4 separate regions of the Homo sapiens genome follow, and all the other regions are linked to region 1. Evidence: promoter capture Hi-C in 16 types of primary human blood cells and fetal thymus (Javierre and others, 2016). All regions are on one chromosome and are shown on one strand. The core of a region is centred on a gene start or on the middle of the fragment in contact, and the rest is flanking DNA. Distances in the headings are between cores, read along the strand shown. Region 1 holds the start of TFDP2 (transcription factor Dp-2). Region 2 overlaps PAQR9-AS1 (PAQR9 antisense RNA 1). Region 3 overlaps RASA2 (RAS p21 protein activator 2). Region 4 holds the start of TRPC1 (transient receptor potential cation channel subfamily C member 1).

The links. Contacts are between HindIII fragments. The CHiCAGO score rates a contact against its expected background, and 5 or more counts as called.
Region 2: a fragment that was not itself captured here is called in contact with the fragment with the promoter of TFDP2 in region 1 in 1 of 17 cell types (naive CD4 T cells); the score reaches 5.6 in naive CD4 T cells.
Region 3: a fragment that was not itself captured here is called in contact with the fragment with the promoter of TFDP2 in region 1 in 1 of 17 cell types (total B cells); the score reaches 5.1 in total B cells.
Region 4: a contact is called between the fragment with the promoter of TRPC1 here and the fragment with the promoter of TFDP2 in region 1, in 14 of 17 cell types (fetal thymus, activated CD4 T cells, erythroblasts and 11 more). The highest score is 17.0, in fetal thymus.

Annotation. Positions count from the first base shown.
Region 1 is chr3:142,145,583-142,152,377 of GRCh38, forward strand. It overlaps TFDP2 (transcription factor Dp-2), which reads right to left and starts at 3,962. Exons shown (of 13, transcript NM_001178139.2): 1 at 3,601-3,962. RefSeq lists silencers at 3,458-3,507, 3,738-3,807, 3,868-4,077, 4,188-4,237 and an enhancer at 3,607-4,107. The HindIII fragment of the contact is 3,426 bases long and covers 3,191-6,616 here.
Region 2 is chr3:142,992,901-142,999,695 of GRCh38, forward strand. It overlaps PAQR9-AS1 (PAQR9 antisense RNA 1), which reads left to right. Exons shown (of 5, transcript NR_125393.1): 3 at 1,097-1,240; 4 at 5,500-5,594. Among named protein-coding and RNA genes, the nearest start is that of U2SURP, 5.3 kb to the right of the region's middle. RefSeq lists an enhancer at 6,108-6,795. The HindIII fragment of the contact is 9,415 bases long and covers 1-6,795 here.
Region 3 is chr3:141,572,737-141,579,531 of GRCh38, forward strand. RASA2 (RAS p21 protein activator 2) reads left to right here. Exons shown (of 24, transcript NM_006506.5): 13 at 411-485; 14 at 1,208-1,331; 15 at 4,264-4,370. Among named protein-coding and RNA genes, the nearest start is that of RASA2-IT1, 51 kb to the left of the region's middle. The HindIII fragment of the contact is 209 bases long and covers 4,392-4,600 here.
Region 4 is chr3:142,721,112-142,727,906 of GRCh38, forward strand. TRPC1 (transient receptor potential cation channel subfamily C member 1) reads left to right here and starts at 2,923. Exons shown (of 13, transcript NM_001251845.2): 1 at 2,923-3,620. The coding sequence starts at 3,449. RefSeq lists a silencer at 3,167-3,216 and an enhancer at 3,475-4,341. The HindIII fragment of the contact is 1,344 bases long and covers 2,250-3,593 here.

The DNA.
Region 1 (6,795 bases), core at 2,712-5,211:
ACAAAAATCAGCCGGGTATGGTGGCAAGCGCCTGCAGACCCAGCAACTCGGGAGGCTGGAGAAGGAGAATTGCTTGAATCCAGGAGGCCACTGCACTCCAGCCTGGGTGACAGAGAGAGACTCTGTCTCTAAATAAATAAATAAATAAATAAATAATCCTTTTCCGAAAAAAAAGACAAAAAAGTAGTAATTAACATATGCTACTGGAATATAGTATAGTTTCACTAAGGACAAGTAATGATAGGGTAAAGAAAACGAAGCATATAAAATCTGGGTTTTAGTAAGGCAACTGTCAAAGTTCCTCACATATTCCTTATGAGAACTTGGAAACATATGAGGTAGATGATGATTAAAATTAGCTGAATTTCTAATTGGGTGACCAACCTGAACCAAAGAATTAATAATAAAATTTTTTATCACCTTTAAGAGAGGTCTTTAGCAGGTAAAGAACTCTGACCTCAGCCCTGCCTAGACAGCATTTTAGTGAAAAATTTGCATGAAAGCAATGCCAAAATTATCAAACTTGTATGTTTATCAAATGCATAGATTTGATATTTATTGGATGACCAAATCAGGATTTTTTTAATGTCAACAGACTAGAAGCAATCTTACAAAATAAAAATATAGATACATGTAAAGTCCTACCAAAAAATATTCTATTAAAGAATTGAGAGAGTATGACTTTAAGAACAGAGAGAGCATGAACAAAATAATTCAACAATTTTAGTTGACAAGGAAACCAATAGTAAAATAGGTATCATACATACATAGTACTGGGATGCCACAACCCATTCTAAATGACTTATATATATATATTAATTATCTTCAGAATTGTGTAAGATAGACACTATTATTAACCCCATATTAGAGATGAGGAGACTTAGGCCCAGAGTGTTTACATAACTTACTCAGGGTTACCCAGCTGATAAACTGCAGAGCTAGGATCTAAACACAGGAAGGTTAGCCCCAAAGTTAATCTTCTTAACTAGTAAATTATTATAAAGTAACAGTGTAATGTGGTTGCCAAAGAAGCAAGTCTACTCTTAAAGTACATGCTTTAAAATTAGAGAGGTAACTTAGTCTTCTATACTAGTTAATACCTAATTTGGGGTACCATGCTTGTCAGAAGAATGTGGATGAACTAAACAAATCCACAAGTGGGCTATGAGTTCTGTGAGGAGATGTGAATGAAAACAATGACACAAAAGTCACTAGCAGAGGTTAAAGACTGAGAATATTTTCTAACACTCAGTGGAATATAAGTATCTTCAAATAGTTGAAAACCCACAATACAGAAGAGACAGTGAGGACACAATTTCTAGTTCAGTGAAAGAAATAATTTTATAAAAATTAGAGTTGTCCAAACATGGCGAGGTGTGTGCCTATAACCCCAGCTACTTGGGAGGGTGAGGTGGGAGGATCACTTGAGCCCAGGAGTTCCAGACAAGCCTGAGCAACATAGAGAAACCCTGTCTCAAAAAAAAAAAAAAAAAGAATTGATCAAATATCTTTGCCTCAGAAACTATGACACTATAAATAGTCTCTCCAAAAAATATACAAATATGCATAATTTTGCATAATATTTCCAAGAGTTCACAAGCCTACTTTCATATCTATTCATGCCGCACACCTAGAGTCATGTATCCCAGATTAAAACGGAAAGGATTTAAGTATGAAGAGGTGAGTGTATTTGATTCTCTTTAAAATCCACTACAATTTAAAATTCTATGATCTAAAAGAACTCTCAATCTATGCCTTCTAGTTTCTTCTGAGATCCATTATAACACATATTGCAATAAGAGTTTAAAAGATGATGACAAGGAAGTACATCCCACTTCATCAGTTATATTGAGGGCACACGGCTCAGACAGTTAAGAATTTTAGCTGCCAGAGAAAAACTTCCATGTGCCACTTGGACTACACATTCACAAGAGTCAGGGTGGGAGGAATTACATGATCACAAAATGAGAATATGAAGTATTACACACTGCAAAAATTCAGCTTTCCTTTTTAAACACCTAGAAATGAAGAGAACTGAAAAGTAAGAGTTTAGTAAGTCTTGAACCTTTTATTAACAAATGTAAGGGCCACAGTGCTCAAACTGCAACTGCACAGCCAGAACAACGCTACAGACACCATGTCTACTCTTAGACTAGACTAGTTACAGGCACAAGATGTTCTAATAAATAACAAACACATCCAGAGCCAGTACACAAGTGTGACAGAATCTGGGGTCTAGGCATTTGATTTTTCTCCTGGTGCTGTCTGAGAATGGACACTGCCATTAAAGATTAATTACAGTAATCTGATAGTGATAAAGTTTAGCTAAATAACAGGCTAAACAATGAAATGGAAAAGGAAGCTGCAATATAGATCAATTAAACTATTTTTATATCTACTTTTAAAGAGAGACAGGGACATGATTATGCCATATAGAAAATAGATGAATATATATTCACGAGCTGAAAAAAAAAACAGGTAAATTATTTATTAGGTGAAGATAAATTCAAGCCATGAAGAGAAAACACATGGCCCAGAAAAAAAAAAAAGTAGGTTGTGCAAGTCAAATGAAAAGACACAAAACTCAGATCTCGGGGAGACAGGGGAAGGAGAAGGCTGAGCTAAAAGAGAGCCTTACTGAAAGAAAGCAAATAAGTGAGAGGGAGTCTGTGCCCTCTGAGATGGAATGAGGAAAAGATAAAAGTATTCATGGGCTCAAAGGCAGCTTCAGCAGTGAATATGGAAAAGGAATGAGCCCGTTCACTGTCTCAACACTAAAAGGGAAATAATATAGGGTCTTTTTCTAAACCAGCATCCATGGCAGTCAATAATAAAAGTGCCTAACTAATGCAAGGCATTTAATACGTGGAGGATTTTCTTACGATTGCATTCCATACATTAGTCCATTCACTCCCCGAAACACACCGAATAGGTGGATGCATCTAATTTACAGATGAAGAAACCGAGATCACACAATGGGAGATAGCACAGGCTGGTAAGAGAGACTGGGGCGCTCATCCACTTCGTTGTACTGTCTCTCAGCGAGATCCTAGGAAAACCCTTACACTTCTTTGTGAAGACAGACCTTGGCTTTCCAGATTTTCTCAAAGGAGTCTGGGCCCAAAAAGCGATCCTCTACTTCAGAGAAAAGTTCCTTTATGGGGCATATGAGGTTCTTCCAAGCACACAAAGCTTAGAAACTCTTTAAAAACAAACAAAACACCTGGTGGACACAGAGGCCTGTGAGTCATGAAAGGAGAAGGGAAAAATCGGAAAACCAGATTTAGAAGCCATCCTTCTTTGAAGAGAACGAGAAAGTAGAAAGCAGCCCTTCCCCTCTTCCACGAGGCGTGACTCAGGGACGTTACCTCCCCCGATTTGCTCTATGCACTAAGAGGGTGACCCTCCTCTGCTTTCGACTCTGGCCCAGACACTCACGGGTTACCCGGCCAGGCCTGGAGAACCCAGGTCTAAACAGATGGGACTCGTGGGGGAACAAGGGGGCCCCTGTGCGCAGGGAGGGAAACCTACCCAGGAACGCGCCCGGCCGGGTCCAAAGGCCCTCCGCGCGCGGGCCCGCGCCCTCGCCCCAGACCTTACCGCCTTCGGCTGCAGAAGAACTGGCGGCCAAGCGAGGCTGTCGGGCCGAGCCAGGAGCGCGTCTTCGGGCGCCGCCGCTTCTGTGGCGCCCGCGCTTAGGCGGCGGCCGGGTCCCGGTGGACTCACACCCGGGGAGACGCGGCCTGCCCGGTCAAGGCCCAGGAGTTTGAGGCCCCAGAACGCCAACCGTGCGCGCGCCCTCGAGCCTGCCCAAAGATGAAGGGTCAGGGCGCGCCCCGCGGGCCGGGCAGCTGCGGCAGCGCCGCAGCCGAGATCGCTACCGATTTCGTCCGCCCTCTCCCTGCCCAGCTACAGCCCCGCTTCCCCCGCGCGAGCTTTGGCGGCGGAGCAGCACAGTGCGCGCCGATTGGCCCTCAGAATGTGCGACGCCTGGCGCCGCTCCCCACGGATTGGCCGGGCCGGCAGTGCGTGCACGGAGTAAACAAACCCCGCCCCCAGGCTTCCCTTTGAGAGTAGGGGGCCAACAGATGGAGGGGCGGGACTCGTGCACTCAGCCACCGCCCCTTGGTTCCCCCTGTGGCCTCCCTGGGAGCCCTCCGCAGGACCCGACCACCCCGCTTCCCCGCCGCCTCCAGGGACAGCTGCGGGCCTGAGGCCTAGAATTTTAGACACACTTCCTTCATCACTCCTATCTCATCCCCCCTACTCCCACCCTGCGACTTGGGTGGGAATCTCTTTTCCAACTGACCCCGAAGCCAGAAAACCCCAGCTCTCTTGGAAGGAGGGGGACTGGGGCAGTTCCATTCGGTCCCCAGGCCTTTGCGGGGTCGCCCTGGGGGAGCATCAATAAGGGACAGGGGGGCGAGTGATCGTGATTGAGGCTATGCGTGGGGCCAACTGTGGGACACCTTGAAATTATTCAGACAATGAGTTAGAGACCACTGGGAATGTGGAGGTTCTTCAATATCAAGGCAAGTTAATACCCAAACCAGGACAGGTCATTCTGTCCCGCGGAAACTGCACACACCCCAAATACCCGTACACTTGGTTCCATATGAAAAGATTTTGTTCATTCGTTCGTGCCGAAGTTAAAAACCCCGTGTGAACAGCGCATTAAAACGATTAGATCTTTCTCATTTTACTCCAGTCAAATCTTATAGATCTTCTATATGCCACTTTGTTTGTTTTTGAGACGGGGTCTTGCTCTCACCGAGGCTGGAGTGCGGTGGCAGGATCACGGCTCATTGGAGCCCTGACTTCCCAGTCTCAGGTGATCCTACCACCACAGCCTCCCGAGTAGCTGGGACTACAGGCCCGCGCCACCACACCCGGCTGTTTCGCCATGTTTCCCAGGCTGGTTTGGAACTCCTGGACTCAAGAGATCCTCCCGCCTGGGCCTCCCAAAGTGGTGGGATTACAGGCGTGAGCCACCACGCCCGGCCCCAAACACTATTCTTGATATGGGGAGACATCAGTGGACAAAATAGAGACAAAAACTCCTGCCTTCATGGAGCTTACATTCTAGCAGGATGGGAAAGATAATATGCAAAAGAATACGTAAAACAAAAACTATATTACATGCTGGTATGTGTGCTATGGGAAAAAAATATAAGCAGAGGTGTTGGAGGAATGGCTTCAGTCCTAAATAGAGTGATCTGGGAAGGTAGCACGGAGAAGGTGGTATTTAAGCAAATGCCTAAAGGAGATGAGATAGGTAAGAGAGCACTTTCAGATCTTTCTCTGGGGCAGGGTGGAGAGACAATTGTATGCATAATTGCATGTAACTAGTCCTGAGAGTCCAAGAATGTCAAATGCAGTACTCCACTGACTGATTCTAAAATGCAAAAACCCCAGTGATTACTTCACATTCTCCAGTAACAAATCAATAAAAATTTAGTTTCCACAAAAAATATAACTTTAAGAAAACTTAAAGTTATATTCAACAAATACTTTTCACTCTAGGTACTACGTATACAAAAATGAGCAAGACAGACAAAACATCCACCCTCAAGGAACTCAGTGTAGCAGAGGAAATGGATTGTAAACCACCTCAATTCAATGCGTAAATAACCATGATGGAAGTACACACACAAAGTGCTTGGGCTAATGTAGGGAAAGGGGTCGCTGTCATAGAGGAGCTGTAACTATCTTAGGATCTCTTTATCTATAAAAGATAGTACTAAAAGATTCAGTACTAAATTTGGAGTGAAGTTATGGCTATGAGGGATTCCCTAACCTCTTTATAGGTCAGAGTCTGAAGATACTAGGTTGAACCACATGAAATTGCTGATATTGGGCAATTTTCATATGGTTCAACTTACTCTCTTGCAGAGGTAGTATGAGGATTTTGCTATGTAATGCATGTAGTAAGTGTTCAATAAATGATGGCAATTATTATATTCATCGTATAATATAGCTTTTGAAAATAAAGATTTAAAAGTCAATGTTTTATAACACCTTCCAACGCCATTACATAAAATGGGCAGTGAAAGTTTCAAATTTTCCATATCCTAGTTTGATTTAGTTGTGAATTTCCATGACCTAATCAGGGCATGTTGTAAAAGACAGTAAATGTTAGTTTCACAGCAGGCCAAGAAATTCAGAATAAGGAGGAACAGCTTGGTTTTTAAGCCAAAAACTGAGAATTCTCCAGAACAGAATAAATTGTCAAGTTGCTACAGGGAAGAAAATTCATGTAAATCAATTTTTCATTCCCACTCATAGTTCCAATTTAGCAATTTGCACAACAGTCAGCTTTCTTTCTTATTTCCCCATTAAGGGATCTTATTTCCTTTGAAAAGGAAAATAAAGTTTCCACCATCTCCAATGCCAGAGAGTAGACATCTGAAATGTGACAGAACATTTATTGATTCTGCAAACATTTATTAAGCACTTATTGTATGCCAAGAACTATGCAAGGCACTGGCAATACAAACAGATGTCCAAAGAGCACCATTCATTGGCATTCCTTATGCTTGGAACAATCCCCCAGTTCACCCACAACTCACCTGCACATGCCTTTTCATCTAAACTTAAACAACACTTTCTCCAGAAAAGCTTCCCCGGAGTCCCCATCTCCAACTGTTTTCCCATAAAATTTTCTTTGACTTTCCAACATTCATTAAACTTGTAATTACTCACTTGCTACCTGCATCCCATTAGACTGTAAGCTTCTAGAGTCAAAGTCATATCATTCTATTCACTATCATCTCCTCAGTGCTTAATGGAAGTTCA
Region 2 (6,795 bases), core at 1,935-4,434, 850 kb after region 1:
AGAGCATGCATAATGACAAGAGCTGCTTTAAGTTCAAGAATGTTTTGACAACATTCATAGGACTATGTATTCACAATAGCCAAAGCTAGAAGCAACTCAAGTGCCCGTGGACATATGAATGGATAAACACTGTGGTATGGACATATAATGGAATATTACTCAGACTTAAAAAGGAAGGAAATTCTGACACATGCTACAACATGGATGAACTTTGAAGACGTTATGCTGAGTGAAATAAGCTAATCACAAAGGGACAGTTACTGTATGAATCCATTTATGTAAGGTACCTAGACTAGTCAAGTTCATAGAGACAGAAGGTAGAATGGAGGTTGCCGGACCAAGGGGAGAGAGGAAAGGGAAGTTACTGTACAGAGTTTCGATTTGGGAAGGAGAAAAAGTTCTGGAGATCGATGGTAGCAATGGTTGCACAACAATGTGAATGTACTTAAAGCCACTGAACTGTACACTTAAAATTGCTAAAATGGTGAATTTTAAGTTATGTGTATTTATCACAATGAGAAATATAATAGCCTATCAATCACAGCAGCATCTCCAAACATTTGAAAAGTAGTTGTATATGCATCTGAAATCTATTATTCATACAATCGACAGTTTTGCCCCACCTTCGAAATCTTCAGTCATTCCACAGCGAGCCTCTGAGGGCCATTTGGACTTTCTTTGGGCACAATTGATTAGACCAAGAATGAGCGGTTAGCCCCAGTTGGACTATTCAGAACCTTGTCCTAAGAATTTGGAATTTGATTTTAGAAACTTGTTATTAGTCTCTGTGTAGAGGTAAAGGTGAGGTAATATTGTTGGGAGTTATAGGGCAGTCATCTTTTTCCATGTTCATTTTTTATTCAACAAATATTTATTTTTTGTCTACTCTGTGGTAGGCATTGTGCAGGATGCTGGGATTCAGTGGCATCCCTGCCCTCCTGAAACAGAGCAAGCCTGACCGTAGGGAGATGATCTCTAAAGTTATTTCTCATATTTTTGTTAGACCTGATGTTTTGCACACTGTTTTCTAGTAAATGAACAACACAGTATGCCATGATTTTTTAAAATTACATTTAACTTCCTCTCTATTTTTTAGCACGTTTTTCAGCACCAGGACAAGCATCATTGCTCAAGGAGAGCTTGGTTGACAACAGGAAGTTAGAAGGAGTCTGAATTGTAACAAGTGTGGCAAGAGCACCAAGATCACTGTGTGTGTGTGTTCACAGAAAATGTACCAAAGGTGGGTGTTTTGTTTACCAGTGGCAGCAGCGCCACCACGTGGCAAAATAGTAAATGATGTTTGTAATTTCTATGCCTGCCTGCATAGAAATTACTCAATTCTTGAAGGAAAAAAAAAAGCAAAAATTGGGCATGAAAGGGGATCTGTATTATTTCACAATTGGTACTTAAGGGGAGACTTTTAAGTCTGTTTCAAATTAGCATAATTGGAATCTTCTTAAAGTGAGGCAACACTGTGCTAAGGTCTTCATCCTGCCCTCGCAGAAGTTAATTAACCCCAGAGGTGAAATCTTGAGAGCTGGACAGACACTCCCAGTGGTTCTAGAGTATCCTTCATTAGGTCTTTCCTGACTTCTCCCAAACCAATCTTCTCCTGTGTTTCCATAAAACTGTTTCTGGTGCTCATTTCATTCCTTAACAAATATTCATTGAGTACCTGCATGGTGCTTACTCTGTTCTAGGTATTGCAGATGCAGCAGTGAACAAATCAAACTAAAATTTCAGCCTGTACTTCTTAGCATCTTATTGTGATACATCTGGGAGTGTTTTATGCCCTGCAAGCCCTTTGACAACAGGGACCTGTCTTATCCCATCCTCACTGGAACCACACCTTCTACCCATTGAATTCCCAAGTAATGATTTCAGAACTCAACTGATTAAAGATGACTATATTTATTAGGACCATTCCCAAGTCAGTTCTCTGGTGGGATCAAAGCTGTGTCCTTTCAGCCAGGGACAAAATACAGAAACAGAAAGTTCATTATAGATCCTATGGTAAACTGAATAATGGCCCTCCAAAGATGTCCACACCCTAATCCCCAGAACCTGCAAATATATTGCCTAACATGGCAAAGGGACTTTGCAGCTGTGATTAAGGCTCTTGAGATGGGAGATTATCCTGGATTGTCATAGTAGAGCCAATGTAATCACAAGGGTCCTTATAAGAGGGAGGGAGCAGAGTTGGAGAAGAGATAAGGGTGGAGGCAAGTGTCAGAAGATGCTAATGGAGGAGAGGGCCACAGACCAAGGAATGCAGGTGAATTCTAGAAGCTGGGAAGGGGAAAGAAAAGGATTATTCTTTAGAGACTCCAAAATAAGCACGGGCCTGGTGGTACATTTTATATTTCTGACCTCCAGAGCTATAAAATACATCTGAGTTGCTGTAAGCCACTAACTTTGTGGTAATTTGCTACAGCAGCAATAGGAAACTATACAGATTTCTACCTGTCCTCCTCCTAATCTGCGTTCCACACTGCTCATTTTCACTGGTGTGCAGAGTGGGACATTTCTACTTTGTTCCCCTATTTTCCCAAGTCAGGGAGATGTCCTGGTTTGTCTTGACACAAGCCTCTAACAATGTTTCTCTAACAGGGCTGTGTGACCATTGGCATTCTTTGGTGTATCCTCACAGTCCCTTAGTTTTCTTATGAGAGTTTTAAATTCTATTCAGTTCCACAGTTAGCTAAAAAAAAGTTAATGTACAATTCAAGGTACAACCCAAAAAGTTATCCTTATCCTCATAAGAATACTAAAATCATCTCATTAGAGTCAGGAATGAGACAAGCATGTTTGGCCGGGCGCGGTGGCTCACGCCTGTAATCCCAGCACTTTGGGAGGCCAAGGCGGGCGGATCATGAGGTCAGAAGATCGAGACCATCCTGGCTAACACGGTGAAACCCCATCTCTACTAAAAATACAAAAAATTAGCCGGGCGTGGTGGCGGGCACCTGTAGTCCCAGCTACTCGGAAGGCTGAGGCAGGAGAATGGCGTGAACCCGGGAGGCGGAGCTGGCAGTGAGCAGAGATCGTGCCACTGCACTCTAGCCTGGGCAACAGAGAGAGACTCCATCTCGATAAAAAAAAAAAAAAAAAAAAGACAAGCATGTTCATTAGCACCACTCTTAACATTATTCTGGGGGTACTGGCTAATGTAATTATACAAGAAAAAAGTATAAAAATGGGAAAGGAGGAGGCAAACTGGTAATTATTTGCAAATATGATTGTATACCTGAAAGTTCAAGGGAATAAACTGAAAACCTATGTAAATAATAAAAGAATTCAGTAAACACATTACACAACATTAATATATCAATAAACAGCTTATTTAGGACATACATAAATACAAAAACTTACTATAATCACAGTAACAACAGAAAAGACAAAATACCTAACAATTAAAGTAACAGGAAATAATGCAAAGTTAATGTGAAGGAAATGGAACAAAACTTGAAAAAGAAGAAAGGTATGCCATGTTGTTTTGATAGAATCTTACCACTATAGCAATGTCAAAATAAAGCCTTATGTGTTTTAAGACCACTGTTACTAACAACTTTTGTTATTAACAGATGAAATTGATGAGGGAAAGTCTTCTTTCATTTTCTTTTCATAACTTCATTCTCCACCCAGCCTGTAATATTACCTGGTCTTGTCTCGTGAGTTTCAGTAAATATGGGGATATGTACGCTTCGCACTGGCCAAAGCCAGGTCACAAGTTAAGTGAGGCCTTATCTTTGGTGGTCCAAGTCAAGCCCACCTTTGGGTTGCCTGGCCATGGCAAGAGAGAGCTCCCCAGATTTGCCGTGTGCTGGTTCTCATGACCTGCCACAGGAACCTTGAGTCCTCCTTTATCACACTCACACACACACACACACACACACACACTCAGGAACGCTCATTTCCATTTCCACAGTACGCCATCTGGACTCTCCTAGATTTTATTAACCTTGTTGATAAAATAATTCCTACACAGTAAAGGTTTCCTTCTCACTAGGATCATAGTTAAAATGGCAATTTCTATTATTTTCAACATGGCACCAGTGTATTCTTGGGCTATATACTTTTTGACATCATTTTTAAAAAAATGCCACTGCTAATTATTATTATTATTATTATTATTATTATTTTTTGTAGAGACGGAGTCTCGCTTTGTTGCCCAGGCTGGAGTGCAGTGGTGTGATCTCAGCTCACTGCAACCTCTGCCTCCTGGGTTCAAGCATTTCTCCTGCCTCAGCCTCCTGAGTAGCTGGGACTACAGGTGCACGCTGCCATGCCCAGCTAATTTCTTTTGTATTTTAGTAGAGAAGGGGTTTCACCATGTTGCCCACGCTGGTCTCAAATTCCTGAGCTCAGGCAATCCACCTGCCTTGGCCTCCCAAAGTGCTAGGATTACAGGCGTGAGCCACTGCGCCTGGCTGCCACTGCTAATTATTATTGTCAAAGGAATCTGTATATAATCAATAAGTGAGTCAGGTAATTTTTGTGTGTGTGAGAAAGGGGGAGCAGCTGCTGTTGCTACTAAAACCTTATTCATAACACTTACGTTGTGGGGTGGGTGTGGGGCAGGCAGTCAAGTGCAGCAGAAGGAATTTTCCATTCCACACTGACCACACCTCCGTGAAGGCTGTTTCCTAATTATTCCTAGAAGCAGCTAGGATCTGTCTTAGCAGAAGACATTAAGTCTGATTTTTAGTTGTCTCTCCTTTTATCTTCTTTCTTCAGAGCCTAGCACAAGCTAGAAACTCAATAAATGCCAAAGAAGCAAATGGAGTGTTCCTTTTACCAGCCTATATCCTGAAACCCAGAGAGCAGGGAAAAACTGTTTAAAAACTGTCTAGAATGAAAATGCCACCAAGTAGGAGCAGTCCATTGGCACAATACAGGAGGCTGTAGCTTTGGGGCAATCATTTTTTAAGGTCTCTATCTTTCAGCATGCACAGGTTCCACAGCTGTTTGTATTGTTAAATACTTTCTCCACTCCACTTTTTTCCTCCTTAAAGAAATCAAAACATTTTTGGTGGGGAGGTCTAAAAATTATTGTGAGCCCTAGGCACTGAGTCTCCTGTACCTTACTAACAAGTCAGTTCTGGCTGGTGCCTGGGGGAACTGGTTGGTAATGTTTTGATCATCACCCCAGGTAAGTATTACACTGTACATCAGAAGTAGAAAACTGAAATGCCTACAAGCAGGCTGGGTATGGGGAATTTGTCCACCGTGTATGATGAGTTGGTGGCTAAACTGGTGTTCATAGCCCCCTTCCCTAGAAGTCGCTGCAGGCCACCTCACCTGGATTGTCCCCCAGTGTTGCCAGACTTCCCCATTTTTCAAGAAAGGCTAGAAACCCTGAGTTTTATGTAAAATCTCTCTGTTTTAAAATGCTAGCTCAAATTTCAAAGAAAAAATCTCCCTGAATGAACCAAACAAAACATCTCAGTATTGTATATGGCACTACTTTGTAATTTCTCTTGAACGTATCTGCTGCAGGGAGAAGCCTTAAAAACAAATGGCAGGTGTGGGCACCAGAAAATCAACACATCGGGAAGAGAAAAATGGCATGGTTTTACTGTAATTGTAAAAAGGTAATACTAGTTGCAGTAAATTGCATGATTCTTACTGTTTATGTGTAGTCCCTTAGCACTAATCTAATTATTCAGATTCCATAAAATTCCATTTGGATTATTTTCATGCTATTTCACTTTCCTGAATTTGTAATTTGAGTAATAGGGCCAGAATTTCATGACGTAATAGGGCCAGAATTTCACGTATCAAGAATTCTTACTCATAATTGTGATGTTCAATTTTTTTTTTTTTTTCCTGAGATAGGGTCACTCTGTTGCCCAGACTGGAGTGCAATGGCAAGATTCCCAGTGCTCTGGTGGTCCTCCCACTTCAGCCTCCTATCTGGGACTACAGATGCATGCCACCACATCTGGCTGATTTTTAAATATTTTTTTGTAGAAATAAGGTTTTGCCATGTTGCCCAGGCTGGTCTCGAACTCATGGGTTCAAGCCATCTGCCTGCCTTGATCTGCCCGCCTTGGCCTCCCAAAGTGCTAGGAGTACAAGCCTGAGCCACTGTGCCTGGCAATGATTTTGAATTTTTAAAAGCGTACTTAACCCTTAATAAAGGCCCGTATTATTTCTAGTCACATCATATTTGTCTGACTTGCTTTGGGGCTTACAATATAAAAAAGAAGAGAGGAAAGAAGTCTGCATTCTTTTGTTTTTGACTCTTCAGGAGTATTTAGTAAAAATTATTTTTAAAATAAGTAGGACTTTGGGGATTTGACTGAAAAGCTACACATATTCACTTTCTAGTGACAAAATCAGCCTGTGGCATTGTCAGAACACCACAAGGCATACCCAGTCCCACTTCTCCTCTTCATCTCAGCTGATGATTTCACTTTCTAATCCTATAAACAGTTAAGATCTAGGCTGGGCGCGGTGGCTCACGCCTGTAATCCCAGCACTTTGGGAGGCCGAGGTGGGTGGATCACGAGGTCAGGAGATGGAGACCATCCTGATTAACATGGTGAAACCCCGTCTCTACTGAAAATACAAAAAATTACCCGAGCGTGGTGGCGGGCGCCTATAGTCCCAGCTACTCGGGAGGCTGTGGCAGGAGAATGGCATGAACCCAGGAGGCGGAGCTTGCAGTGAGCCGAGATCACGCCACTGCACTCCAGCCTAGGCGACAGAGCGAGACGTCTCAAAACAAACAAAACAAAACAAAACCCTGTTAAGATCTAGTGTGCTGAGCTCTTCAAAGTGGTAAAGTAT
Region 3 (6,795 bases), core at 3,246-5,745, 570 kb before region 1:
CTCCAACAATGATAGTTTGTGGCCTTATGATAGTTGTTCTTTTATCAAGTGATCTATTGATGGGAAGGATTTATTCATTCATGTGTTACTGAAAAAATAGACTGAACACTTTAGAAGCAAATTATTTACTTCTCTGTCAATGGATTTTTACTCAAAAGGTACAGTATAGTATAATCTACATTATTTCTTTGTTATGGGATTTCTATTTTAGCTAGAGTTTCAAATATATGACAAATACTTTTTGATATCATGTTTTAAGAAAATTGTATATGTTATCCCTGCATAGGACATTTTACGCTTTGCTACAGTTTAAATTTCTATAATTAACTTTTATTATCAGAAAAATAAGTTATTTTCATTTTGTCAGACTACTTAGAAAAAAATCATTAACTGAAAAATTTATTTTTCAGATATGTGACTCCTCAAAATCCTGTGAAATCGATCCTATTAAATTGAAAGAGGGAGATAATGTAGAAAATAATAAGGTAAGTCCTTGTTATATTATTTATAATTGCATTAAAATTGGTCTTAATGGTGTACCTTTCTCCCACTTACATTATGATAAAGCCATATAGAGGGAAGCAGTGCTGTTTATTCTTCACATAAGCCTTTATTATTAGCAGCACTTCCAGCTCCTAGGATTAGTTTTTAGAATGTTATTTCCTCAGTGGTTTCACTTTATTTTTGTTCTTGATTGTCTCTTTTTGGCTCTAGTAACAATAGTGAACTTAAGCTATAGCTAGTTGCAGCCCCCGTTCTAGCCATTCCTTTGGGCTCAAACTGATCAGGCTAAGTGACACAGTGACTTTATCAGTCAGTAGTTTCAGTGGCCTCTGAAAAAACAATGATTGTGTTAGGGTCACAAATTTTTATTGCAGTGGATAATAGTGTCACAATGTCCTTGTGCTTGTGTATCCGAGTTATTTTGTGATTTCCTTTTGGATCATTTTATTCCCTCTTGCTTCTTGTGAGGTTTATTCATAGATTCACCTCTTACGCCTAGCAAATCTAAATTTAATTTATTAAATTAAGTCAGTATGTAAATTGTCCTTAAACTGAATGAGTTTGGAAAAGGGTAACAGTACTTTAAAAAATGTTAGATAGTGACTGTCTAATAAACCTCATTTTCTTACATTTTTCTTTCATGAAGGCTATTGAAGATGTGTGAACATCAAAATCTTAATGTTTACCTTTTTAAATCCTGCAGGAGAATCTGCGCTACTATGTAGACAAGTTATTCAATACAATTGTAAAATCAAGTATGAGCTGCCCCACTGTAATGTGTGATATCTTTTATTCTCTAAGGCAGATGGCTACTCAGAGATTTCCTAGTAAGTGCCTTGTTTTACTAAAACATGCCATTTATTTTTCTTTGACTTTTTTATAGATATTAATTACATGTTTGGTTTGTGAGATATTTAAGGTTTTTATTTATTTATTTATTTTTATTTTATTTTATTTTATTTTTTTTGAGACGGAGTCTTGCTCTGTCACCCTGGCTGGAGTGCAGTGGCGCTATCTTGGCTCACTGCAACCTCCATCTCCCGGGTTCATGCCATTCTCCTGCCTCAGCCTCCCGAGTAGCTGGGACTACAGGCGCCCGCCACCATGCCCAGCTAATTTTTTATATTTTTAGTAGAGACGGGGTTTCACCATGTTAGCCAGGATAGTCTCGATCTCCTGAACTCGTGATCCGCCCGCCTCGGCCTCCCAAAGTTTCTGGGATTACAGGCGTGAGCCACCACGCCCAGCCTAAGGTTTTTAAGTACAACCTTCTTTAGTTTTTCAAAATGATTCTATCTTTCTCATAAGAAATCTGATTTTTCTTGAAATCTCAAAATACATATTCCATTTTATTTCAGTATAATGCAACTTTATACAAAGAGCAAATCAAAATCACCATTAAAGAAAGGCAAAAATTCAGAACTGTAACATTATATAAGTAAGCACTTATACCAGATGCTTATGAGAGTTAAAAATACCTTTGTTATTTATACCAACTATCTTTTCCAGCTGCATGCATTCAGATAGTGAGAATCTTTAGTTCCATAAAATTGACTAGATTTGACAGTTTGAGAATGCTAATAAGGTTTTGGTGGTGAGAGGTTTTTACAGAAATGGTCTTAGACATTAGAAACCTTTCTGTTGTAACATACATAGAGTTTTAAGGTACATATATCAGTAACTGGCATGTTTTAATTTTGAAAAAGTAGCTATGTCAAGGTTTTGCTTAGAAACTTTTCATAAAATTAAGTGTTACTGTCGCTGCTAATACTTAGAATTATTCACATTTTAATATATTTCTGATAAGTAAATAAACTTGCTATAGGTAGCTTTCCAGATCTGTCTATAATGGGAGGTGGTGGGTAGGAGGGTAAAATTAGGCAGGTACTTAAATTACCAGTCTTAACCAGCTGTGCAAAACTGTAAGTTTATTTCTGTAACCATCTGAAGAGATTTTGCAGTTTTATGTTCTTTTAAGCATGTGCTCACCCTGTACACACATGTGTGCAGTTAACTGCACTTCTACTAAATTGACCCATTACTAAATTAGTGGGGCTGAGTTGTCTAACATGTAGATAAATTTAGATCTAAATGTCTTTGCTAATTATAGTTGCAAATAAGTAACTAAATCTAATCTTCATAACAAAAATAAGGGGAGCCAGAGGCACACGGAAAGGTGAAATGCTCATTGAAATTATATTTTTAAATAGTTAAATCATGATAACCACATTGACTACTTAGTAACACACACAGTGTTAGTGTGTTAGCCTCCATTGTCTCCTGTTCTCATCTTCACAAAACCACATGAGGTAGGTACTACTCCCATTAGGTGAGAAACTAAGGTTTAGAGAAGCTGAGTAACTTTACCAAGGTCTGTGGCGTGGCCAACAGGCAAGCAGGGCCTCAAACCTGGGCCTAGTCTACTCCAAACTACATGCTGCCATTCACTATACTCTATACTAACTGGTGATCTTGGCCTTAAATCTGTTTTAGCAGTTTAATTCTTGTTTATATAAATGATCTTAAACACTTTATGGGGTTTTTTTGGGTTTTGTTTTTGTTTTTGTTTTTGAGACTGAGTTTCACTCTTGTTGCCCAGACTGGAGTGCAATGGCACAATCTCGGCTCACTGCAACTCCGCCTCCCAGGTTTCCAGCCTCCCGAGTTGCTGGGATTACAGACATGTGCCTCCACGCCTGGCTAATTTTGTATTTTTAGTATAGATGGGGTTTCTCCATGTTGGTCAGGCTGGTCTCAAACTCCTGACCTCAGATGATCCACCTGCCTCGGCCTCCCAAAGTGCTGGAATTACGGGCGTGGGCCACCGCGCCCGGCCAACACTTTATGTTTTTATATACATGCAGATGTATCTCTTTAGTTATGTTTTTGTTGACTTAACTATTAATATGGTTATCATATCCTCAGTAGACTATAGTAGTGACAGTTTTGTTGCCATAAGTGTTTCATATTCTCTCGTTTTTGTTGTTCTTACTACCCTAGAAGAATGGGGGAAGGAGGGCAGAGCAGACAGCAGGTAGAAAGCAGATATTACTAAAGAATGACAAATTAAACGACTTGTTAATGGTTACCTACTGAATGACTTAGAAGAGTTAAAACTCGAACCAAACCTAAAGATTCTTTCCCTCACCATCTGCTTCACCACCATCTGTCTGATTGTTGGGTAAATTGTTGACTCCAGTCTGAAACGAAAGTTGTAGGTGAATGATCAAAGCCACCAGTAGTCTTCAGTTCATCTGCATTTTTATTTATGGACTGTTGATAGCTTTTTAAAGTAAACATTTCTGCCTAATTGTTTTTGTTGCATAACTTTTGATATTATCAAGATTTTTGGGGGGGATATTGAAACAAGAACCTAAAACTGAAAGTAGCCTTGTATCATACTCTTAAGGGATTCAGTGTTACCACTAGGTAGTGCTAGATACTACTTTTATTTCTGTTGTAATTTTAGCAGTCTCTTCTTGCAGGTGAGGAAAGAGGTATTTTTCAAATTAAAATATTTCTGAAAACCTAGCAGCTTTGTCTTTTTTCATATTATTTCTTATTTCTTTTGGATTTTTTTAATCATAGGGGTTTTCTTTTAATTGAGTCATAAATATCACTATCATTTCATCAACTCAGTTCTTACTAGACAAATTATGTTGCTCTCCTAGTTTACATGTCTTTTCTATATTTTTTAATTTATCATCTTTGTTTTTTAATTGTTTTTGTGCATGACATTTCACCATTTTTTTCCTGCAGATGACCCTCATGTTCAGTATTCTGCAGTGAGCAGCTTTGTATTTCTTCGTTTCTTTGCTGTAGCCGTAGTATCACCTCATACTTTTCATTTGCGACCTCATCATCCAGTAAGTGTTCATTCTTCTGAAAGCTTTATTCCATTTTTTTAATTTTTATTAAAATGAAGAAAAGATAAAATAAACCAATTTCACTAGGCTGTATTTTCTTATAACTGATACTTAAATTTACTCAGCATTTTTCTTGGCCATTTCAGTCTTTCAAGTGAGGCTAATAATCCTATTTTTTGTTGTTGTTAAAAGATGTTCTACAAGAGTAATAAAATGTTGTTAATTATTGAAGCTTGGTGATGAGTACAAAGGGGATTTATTATATTTTTTCATCTGCTACTGTGTGTGTTTGTAAATTTCCATAAGTTTTTTTTCATTAGTTACAGGTTTCATTTTGATAGGTTTTTTATTTAAACAAAATCTACTTTCCTGATTTATTAAAATAGGTTAATTTTGCAGATATTTTTAAATTGCACAGAAATTTGAAGAGGCTCTTCTCTAAGAAAGAAGGCTACAAGAGAAATTCCATTTAATTTAGAAACAGCATCTAAGATAGATTTCAGTAGCAATGAAACTGAAAGCATATAATTAGAAAATATTAAATGGCAGGTGAACTGGATAAGCATTAACAGTAAAAACAGAAAAAGAAACCAAGAATGCAGTATAGTGAAAGGCGTAGGAACTTTTATTGGAATATAACTTGTTAAATATATCAGTATTTTCACTTTTTATTTACCTGAGGTAATACTGTAAACATGAGATTTAAAAATTTCTTAAGCATATAAACTTTGTTCTGGAGTCCTGTTTAATTACCAAAAATCTAAATCTCCACTGCATAGATTTACATGTTTATTTCTTAATTTTTAAAATTCTTTATTTTTGCTATACTTCTGATTCCTTCTTATATGGTGTAATTTGGTTGATTCTTTAAGCTTTTATGTTCCAAATACTTTATAATCTTACCTAATTGCTCCTAGTTGCTGATTTGTATAACAAATAATAACAATAGTCCACATTTATTTAGTGCTTTGTACTAGGCCTTGTTCTAACTACTTTATGTGTTAACTTATTTGGTCCTCCTAGCAACCTGGTAAGGTAAATTCTGTTATCATCCACATGTGCAGATAAGGAAATCACAATACAGTAACTTTTCCAAGCTCACACAACTGACAAATTATGATTTGATCATACTCGATTTGAATTGGATTTAACTGGGATTCAAATTCAGTCAGTCTTTATCATCTGTGAGCTTAATCCTATCCCTTCCAACCTCTTAGACAGATGTTCAAGTACCTATAATGTATCATTCCATGCTCAGTACTGGAGATGCAGTGATGAGTAAGATACTCTTTGCCCTTAGGAAACTCACAGCCAAGAGGAGTTGCTCAATAGTGTAGGGAAAACAGATGAGTTTTAGAGTTAAACCAGGTTCTGAATACCCATTTCTTCTCTCAACGGCTACATGACATTGACACTCACTTAACTTTGTGAGAACTGAATAGAACCATGTTGCAGTGGCAGCACCACGCCCTTTCTTGCCAAAGGATAAATGGTCTGTGAGTAGCCCCAGCAGAGAGTGGGCCAGTGTCCTTTTGTTCACAGGGCTGTCCATTCTGTGGCTTTGTTACTAAAGCTGCACAGAACTCTGAGGCAGTGAAAGCGTGGTAGCAACATTCTGGACATAAACAGAACACCTACTTCTGAACTTGTGAGTCTGCCTTGTATTCATACTTGAATTTGCATATTCCTGTAACAGATGTTGGTGGATACTTAGGTTGGTTCTATGACTTTGCTATTGTAAATAGTGCTGCAGGAAACATGAGTGCAGGTGCCAGGACATCTTTAAGAATATTATTTTCTTCAAAGACAGAGAATTGTAGGGACCTTTTATAGATGTAATGAAATCCCAGATGTTACAGCTAAAATGTTTTCTGAATAGACTTAATTTAGGTGTGTATCTACTTTATAAGTATATTATAAGGATCATATTTCGGATATTCCTTCCTTTCCAGATTACCTTATATTCTGGTCATCTCTTCCCCTTCACATTCATTGCCTGTTTTCAATGTGGGGGTTGGGGGGATACTAAAATATCAAGGAATGGGAGCCAAAAATCAAACTAAAGCTTTTCTGTATCTAAATTTTTCTGGATATGTTTTTAGATGCAAGATACTGTTTACTTGAATCCGTAAATAAAAATGGTCTGTGTTTTGATAGAAACTTACACAAATGTATGGATTGGTGAAAATTCAGCAGGGTATTCATTTAATACCTATTCATTTTGTCATATGTAAATTATATCTCAATTTTTAAAAAAATGAAGGAGCAAAGATTCCTGAGGGAACACCGTTTAGTCAATTTTATATGCTACTATATATTACTTCTTTCAGATAGACAGGCCTGAAAAACCTCTTGGATAATAGACCCAAATAATCACCCTCTGGTAAGATCCAAAAATAACTAGGTGACTTCACATTTCCTAAGC
Region 4 (6,795 bases), core at 1,673-4,172, 570 kb after region 1:
CTCTGACAACTGGAATAAGACAAGGATGCCCACTCTCACCACTCCTCTTCAACATAGTACTGGAAGTCCCATCCAGAGCAATCAGAGAAGAGAAAGAAAGAAAGGGCATCCAAGTCAGTAAAGAGGCAGTCAAACTGTTGCTGTTTGCTGATGATATGATTGTATATCTAGAAAACCCTAAAGACTTCTCCAAAATGCTCCTAGAACTGATAAAAGAAGTCAGCAAAGTTTCAGGATACAAAACTAATGTACACACATCAGTAGCCCTCCTATACACCAACAGCAACCAAGCTGAGAATCAAACAAAGAACTCAATTCCTTTGACAATAGCGGCAAAAGTATTTTGTTTTATTAGAAAAATAAAATACTTAGGAACATACCTAACAAAGAAGGAGAAAGAACTCTACAAGGAAAACTACAAAACACTGCTGAAAGAAATCACAGACGAGGCAAACAAATGGAAACACATCCCATGCTCATGGATGGGTAGAATCAACATTGTGAAAATGACCATACTGCCAAAAGCAATCTACAAATTCAATGCAATTCCCATCAAAATACCACCATCATTCTTCACAGAACTAGAAAAAATAATCCTAAAATCCATATGGAACCAAAAAAGAGCCTGCATAGCCAATGCAAGATGAAGCGAAAAGAACAAATCTGGAGACATCACATTACCTGATTTCAAACTATACTATAAGGCTACTGTCACCAAAACAGCATGGTACTGGCATAAAAATAGGCATATAGACCAATGGAACAGAATAGAGAACCCAGAAATAAACCCAAATACTTACAGCCGACTGATTTTCAACAAAGCAAACAAAAACATAAAGTGGGGGAAAAGACACCCTATTCAACAAATGGTGCTGGGATAATTGGCAAGCCACACGTAGGAGAATAAAACTGGATCTGCATCTCTCACCTTATACAAAAATAAACTCAAGATGGATCAAGAACTTAAATCTAAGACCTGAAACTATAAAAATTCTAGAAGATAACATCGGAAAACCCCTTGTAGACATTGGCTTAGGCAAGGATTTCATGACCAAGAACCCAAAAGCAAATGCAATGAAAAGAAAGATAAATAGCTGGGACTTGATTAAATGAAAGAGCTTTTGCATGGCAAAGGGAAGAGTTAGCAGAGTAAACAGACAACCCACAGAGTGGGAGAAAATCTTCATAATCTATGCATCTGACAAAGGACTACTATCCAGAATCTACAATGAATTCAAACAAATAATCAAGAAAAAAAAAATCCTAACAAAAACTGGGCTAAAAACATGAAAAGGGCTGGGGGCAGTGGCTCATGCTTGTAATCCCAGCACTTTGGGAGGCTGAGGCAGGCAGATCACCTGAGGTCTGGAGTTCGAGACCAGCCTGACCAACAGGGAGAAACACTGTCTCTACTAAAAATACAAAATTAGCCGGGTGTGGTGGCACATGCCGGTAATACCAGCTGGTCGGAAGGCTGAGGCAGGAGAATCACTTGAACCTGGGAGGCGGAAGTTGCGGTGAGCCAAGATCACGCCATTGCACTCCAGCCTGGGCAACAAGAGCAAAACTCTGTCTCAAGAAAAAACAAAAAAACATGAATAGACAATTCTCAAAAGAAGATACACAAATGGCCAACAAACATATGAAAAAATGCTCAAGATCACTAATGATCAGGGAATTCCAAGTCAAAACTGCTATGCCGTATGTACCACCCTACTTCCGCAAGAATGGCCATAATCAAAAAAATCAAAAAATAATAGCTGTTGGTGTGGATGCGGTGAAAAGGGAACACTTCTACATTACTGGTGGGACTGTAAACTAGTACACCACTATGGAAAACAGTGTGGAGATTCCTTAGAGAACTAAAAGTAGAACTACCATTTGATCCAGTAATCCCACTACTGGGTATCTACCCAGAGGAAAAGAAGTCATTACACGAAAAAGATACTTGCCCATGCATATTTATAGCAGCACAATTCGCAATTGCAAAAATGTGGAGCCAACCCAAATGCCCATGAATCAATGAGTGGATAAAGAAACTGTGATATATATATATATATATATATATGTGGTATATATATATGTGATATATATATAATGATGGAATACTACTCAGCCATAAAAAGGAATGAATAAATGGCATTCGCAGAAACCTGGATGGGACTGGAGACTATTATTCTTATTCTAAATGAAGTAACTCAGGAATGGAAAACCAAACATCGTATGTTCTCACTCACAAGTGAGAGCTAAGCTTTGAGGATGCAAAGGCATAGGAATGACACAATGGACTTTCGGGACTCGGGGAAAGGTTGGGAAGGGGGAGAGGGATAAAAGACTACAAAATTAGGTTCAGTGTATACTGCTCGATGATGGGTACATCAAAATCTCACAAATCATCACTAAAGAACTTACTCATGTAACCAAACACCACCTGTTCCTCAAAAACCTATGGAAATAATATGGAAATAAAAATTTATATATTTGTATAAATTATTTAAACATAATATAATTATATATCTATATATCCTTTATAAATGAGAGTTCATTTCCAGCCTAAAATGAGTACAACATACAAACCCACGAGTCTGGCTCTCCATTGTGCTTTAAAGCATAGTGCACCAGAATATGAAATAGCTGGACAATTCCACAAAGGATTTCGACTAAACATTAAGTCGTCAGAGACTCAATTAACATACTGCTCCATATTTGCTTAATTACCTTAAACCAGTACCCTGGGTGTGGAAAGGGACGATTGAGCGAAGTCTTCCTCAGACTGCGGTTCACCTCACCAGAGCGAAGGAAGCTGCAGCGGGCTCCAGGAGCCCAGTGCGTCCCCACCGCAGGCCCCACCCACCCACGCCCCGCTTGCCGCAGGCCCCGCCCACCCAAGCCCGCCCTTGCCGCAGGCTCCTCCCTAGTGTCGTCGCTACAGAGGAGCAGAGGATGACGTGAGGACAGAGTCGCGAACATCTCCTCGGAGCGCAGCTGGGCCAGCGGTTCCCACAGCCCTGGAGCCCAACGTGCGCAGAAGCGCCTCTTGGAGCTCCTCTCCCACAGATCTCTCGTCCTCTTCCTGGGCTAGGCCGCCCCAGGCGCGGCCCCTGCGACTCCTGGCACGGCCCCGTGCTCGGCTGCCGCCCTGGCGCGCGCCACACTGTCGTCCCCGGACGGGCGCGGACCGGCTCGGCCGGGGCGCCGGCGGCTGGGGAGGGGTCGCTGGCCCCGGGGCCGCGCATGCGCCGCCACCAACTTGGGGCTGTCAGTGGAGGGCGAGTGCTGGTTCTCAGGGGAGGCGACGCCCTTCGGGGCCAACGGGCCTCGAGCCGAGGCAGCAGTGGGAACGACTCATCCTTTTTCCAGCCCTGGGGCGTGGCTGGGGTCGGGGTCGGGGTCGGGGCCGGTGGGGGCCCCGCCCCCGTCTCCTGGCCTGCCCCCTTCATGGGCCGCGATGATGGCGGCCCTGTACCCGAGCACGGACCTCTCGGGCGCCTCCTCCTCCTCCCTGCCTTCCTCTCCATCCTCTTCCTCGCCGAACGAGGTGATGGCGCTGAAGGATGTGCGGGAGGTGAAGGAGGAGAATACGCTGAATGAGAAGCTTTTCTTGCTGGCGTGCGACAAGGGTGAGAGTTAGGCCCCTTTCTCCTCTGGACGCCCCTGTCCTCCAGACCTTTAGTCCTCTCCCCCGCCTCAACTTATATCGGGGCATTCCCTCTGTCTCAGGCGCCGAGTGTCTTCCCGCCTCGCCTGCTGCCTCAGGCGGTCTTCTCCTCACCGCCTCTGCCCTGTGAGTGTGGAGCTGGCGGGAGAGTGGAGCTGGGGCTGCGCCCTCGGAGCGCTGCACCGTCGGGGGTGGCTCTGGCCTTGGGGTCCGGGGTTTAGGTAGCGCCTTGGGAGCCCCGACCCCAGCGTTTTAGCGCCGCCCTTGCTACTGACCGCATGAATGACCTGGTCTTCTCTCTGGCTCGCAGTTCATTCCTTCCGGGAGTCGAGAGGCTAGTTTCCGACACTCCAGTCGGAAAATTCCGTCACCTTACCTTAGGATGCCTCGTATGGAGGGTTCTCATCACCTGGTTTTTGTTTTTCTTAAAAACAAAACCAGACCCTCTATTATTTAGCTTCACCTGACCAGTGCTTTAGCCAGTGACTGTTGACTGGCATTAATAACGGAATATCCTAGGTGGAGATACATGAAGTAAGGACGGGACGGAAGAAATTCTGCCTTAGTTGCCAAAACTTTCTCTGGATTTACGGAACGCCTTTGATTGTTAGTGCTTTTTATTGGAGAGAAAGATTTATTGCTCCCAGATCTTTCTTTGGGAGATAAAGATAGTGAAAAATAATTACAGGAATTACAAGGCAAAAATATGTGGAATATATTTAGCGCGTTATCCTTTTTTTAGTCTAGAAGTTAATCATTTTTATGGCCATATTAAGGCCATGTCACGCAATCATCCTTTGTAGTGATGTATATAACAAAAGGGATAGGAAATTGATTGCCCTAAGACTGCTTTTGTTTCCTACATGGAAACACTAAAATTTTTCTTTTTCCAAATTTATATGGCTGTACACTTAGGAAAACTCTGTTAGAAACATGCAAACTTCTGGAACAAACCCAAAGGGCAGTTTACACTATGAAAAGACTAACTACACAGGATTTTTGTTTGTTTGTTTGTATGTGTGAATGTGTAATTAATAAATGACAGCCTTCCTAACCTCTCCTCCTGCTTTTGAAATAGGATTTTATTTACATGATTTTTTGAAAACAATTGACATATAAACAAAGTCCACCTATGTCTGTGGTTGAGCCATTTTTATGTTCTTATGTAATAGTATTAAATAATATTATGAAAGCAATATTAATAATATTGTTAAAGTACACCATGGACACAACTTTGAGCAGTCTTTGAGATGTAAAGAAACAGAATATACATCTACAACGTCACAAAAATAGGGTCTGTGGATTATGTAAAATTATTTAGTATTGCTGGAGTGGGTTGCCTGAGTTCTCTTCCCTCAAAAGTTCTGAGAGAGGAAGGGGAGAAGATTGTGTTGTACTAAAATGAGTAAGTGCTGGCTCCATGTATTCCAGCTCACTGTGCAATGGTTATTTTAAAGCAAACAGAAAGTATGTCAAGAAAGGAAATTTGATATTCCTGTCAAACTGAGGACAGAAAAATATCAGTGGAATATGGTTGAGCAAGTATTTGTGCATTGTGTATATTTAGGATTATTGCATGACATATCTCAAACAAAAGAGAGTTTTAATTTATGATAGTTGTATAGCCTATTTAGTAGTACCAGGTGAAATACCTTGATATTCTTTGTCAGTTTTTTATTTTATAACATAATTGAGATGAGAGACTTGGCTTTGGGGGGGTAGGGTGGAAATTAAATATGCATATTTTCCCCATATATAAATTAGAAATTTTTAAAACAAGTGAGCTAAAATGGGAATTTTCTGTTTCAGGTATGTCTAAACAACTTCTTGAGTTAGATTTGGAAAAATAGCATAATTCTTACGCATACTTATGGGGTACATTTACATTTAAAAAGTAACTTTGAGTTATAGGAATATTCTTTTGATTACGTGTTTGTATTCGCTAATATTGTTAGACTTTTTAAAATGTTACCTAAACCAGTCTAAAAGTGAACAATTTCCTGAAGTAGCTATGACTTCCACCATTACACTGGAGCCTTCCTCAGACCAAATGTTAAACATTCACTAAAGCAGCTATTGGGGTCGAGTGTTCATGCTTTTCATAGAGGATTTCATTTAAACCCCACAACCCCATGAGCCAGATCTGTTGTTGTCCTCAATTTGTAGATGAGGAAAATGAGGCTTAGCAAAATTTTAAAATTACTTTGCCCAAGGTTACATTGGTTAGATAATAGTAGAACTGGCATTTATCTTGAGCCTGCACTCCTAACCACTACGTTATATAGATCTGGTTGTAGGTGAATGAGTGAACATCATTTGTGTCAGAAAAGACACATCCATATTTGGACTTACTAGTTGAAATTACATTTTCTTTGTATGGATGCTTTATAAACCTTGATTTCTGTGTATTACATTTGTTCAATGAAGGGTAAAAAGCAAGCATGGTACTTCAGTAGCACCAGAGTAAATCAACTCTAGAGTATCTATGGTGTTCTAGAGTGTCTCATTCTTTTCATGTAGCATTCTTGTTGTACATATGCAAAATGTTCATAACATATTCTTCTTAGGAAAAATTGAGGAATTCCTAAAGCAAAAATTGTGGAGATGAGATGGATATGTGTATGTTAGTGGATGGGTGGCCCTTTGAAAGATGTGTACAGATTAAAGAGTACAATAAATGTAGGAAAGAGAAAAGAAAAAGATTTATAGTTTGTGATAGCTGGCTTTTATGTAAGTAAGTTCGGTAGATTTAGGCAACTGCTGATCTAGGTAGTGGCCACTTAGTAATGGCTGTTAGTGATCTTCATAGTGGGTGAGGATCATCTCAGAGGTAACATTGAATCCTTTCTTTGTAAAGGAAAACCTTAATTGAAAGTTACTGTGCCAGCAATATATAAAGTGAAGTCTAGGACCCCCAGATAAAATTCTCAGAAAGTATACTCATGTTCTTTCTAGAGATAGAAAGCTATATAAATTCAGAGGTAAAACTTAATTGAAACAAGAGCTGACTATAAATATGTTGTTTTATGAAAAATTAAGTAGTGATTCTTACAGCCATGGCTTTGTCCTCTCTCATTGAGAATTAGTGTCATAATGAGCCTCTTTTATTTGTAGGCACCTATGGTGTCCCTCAGGTC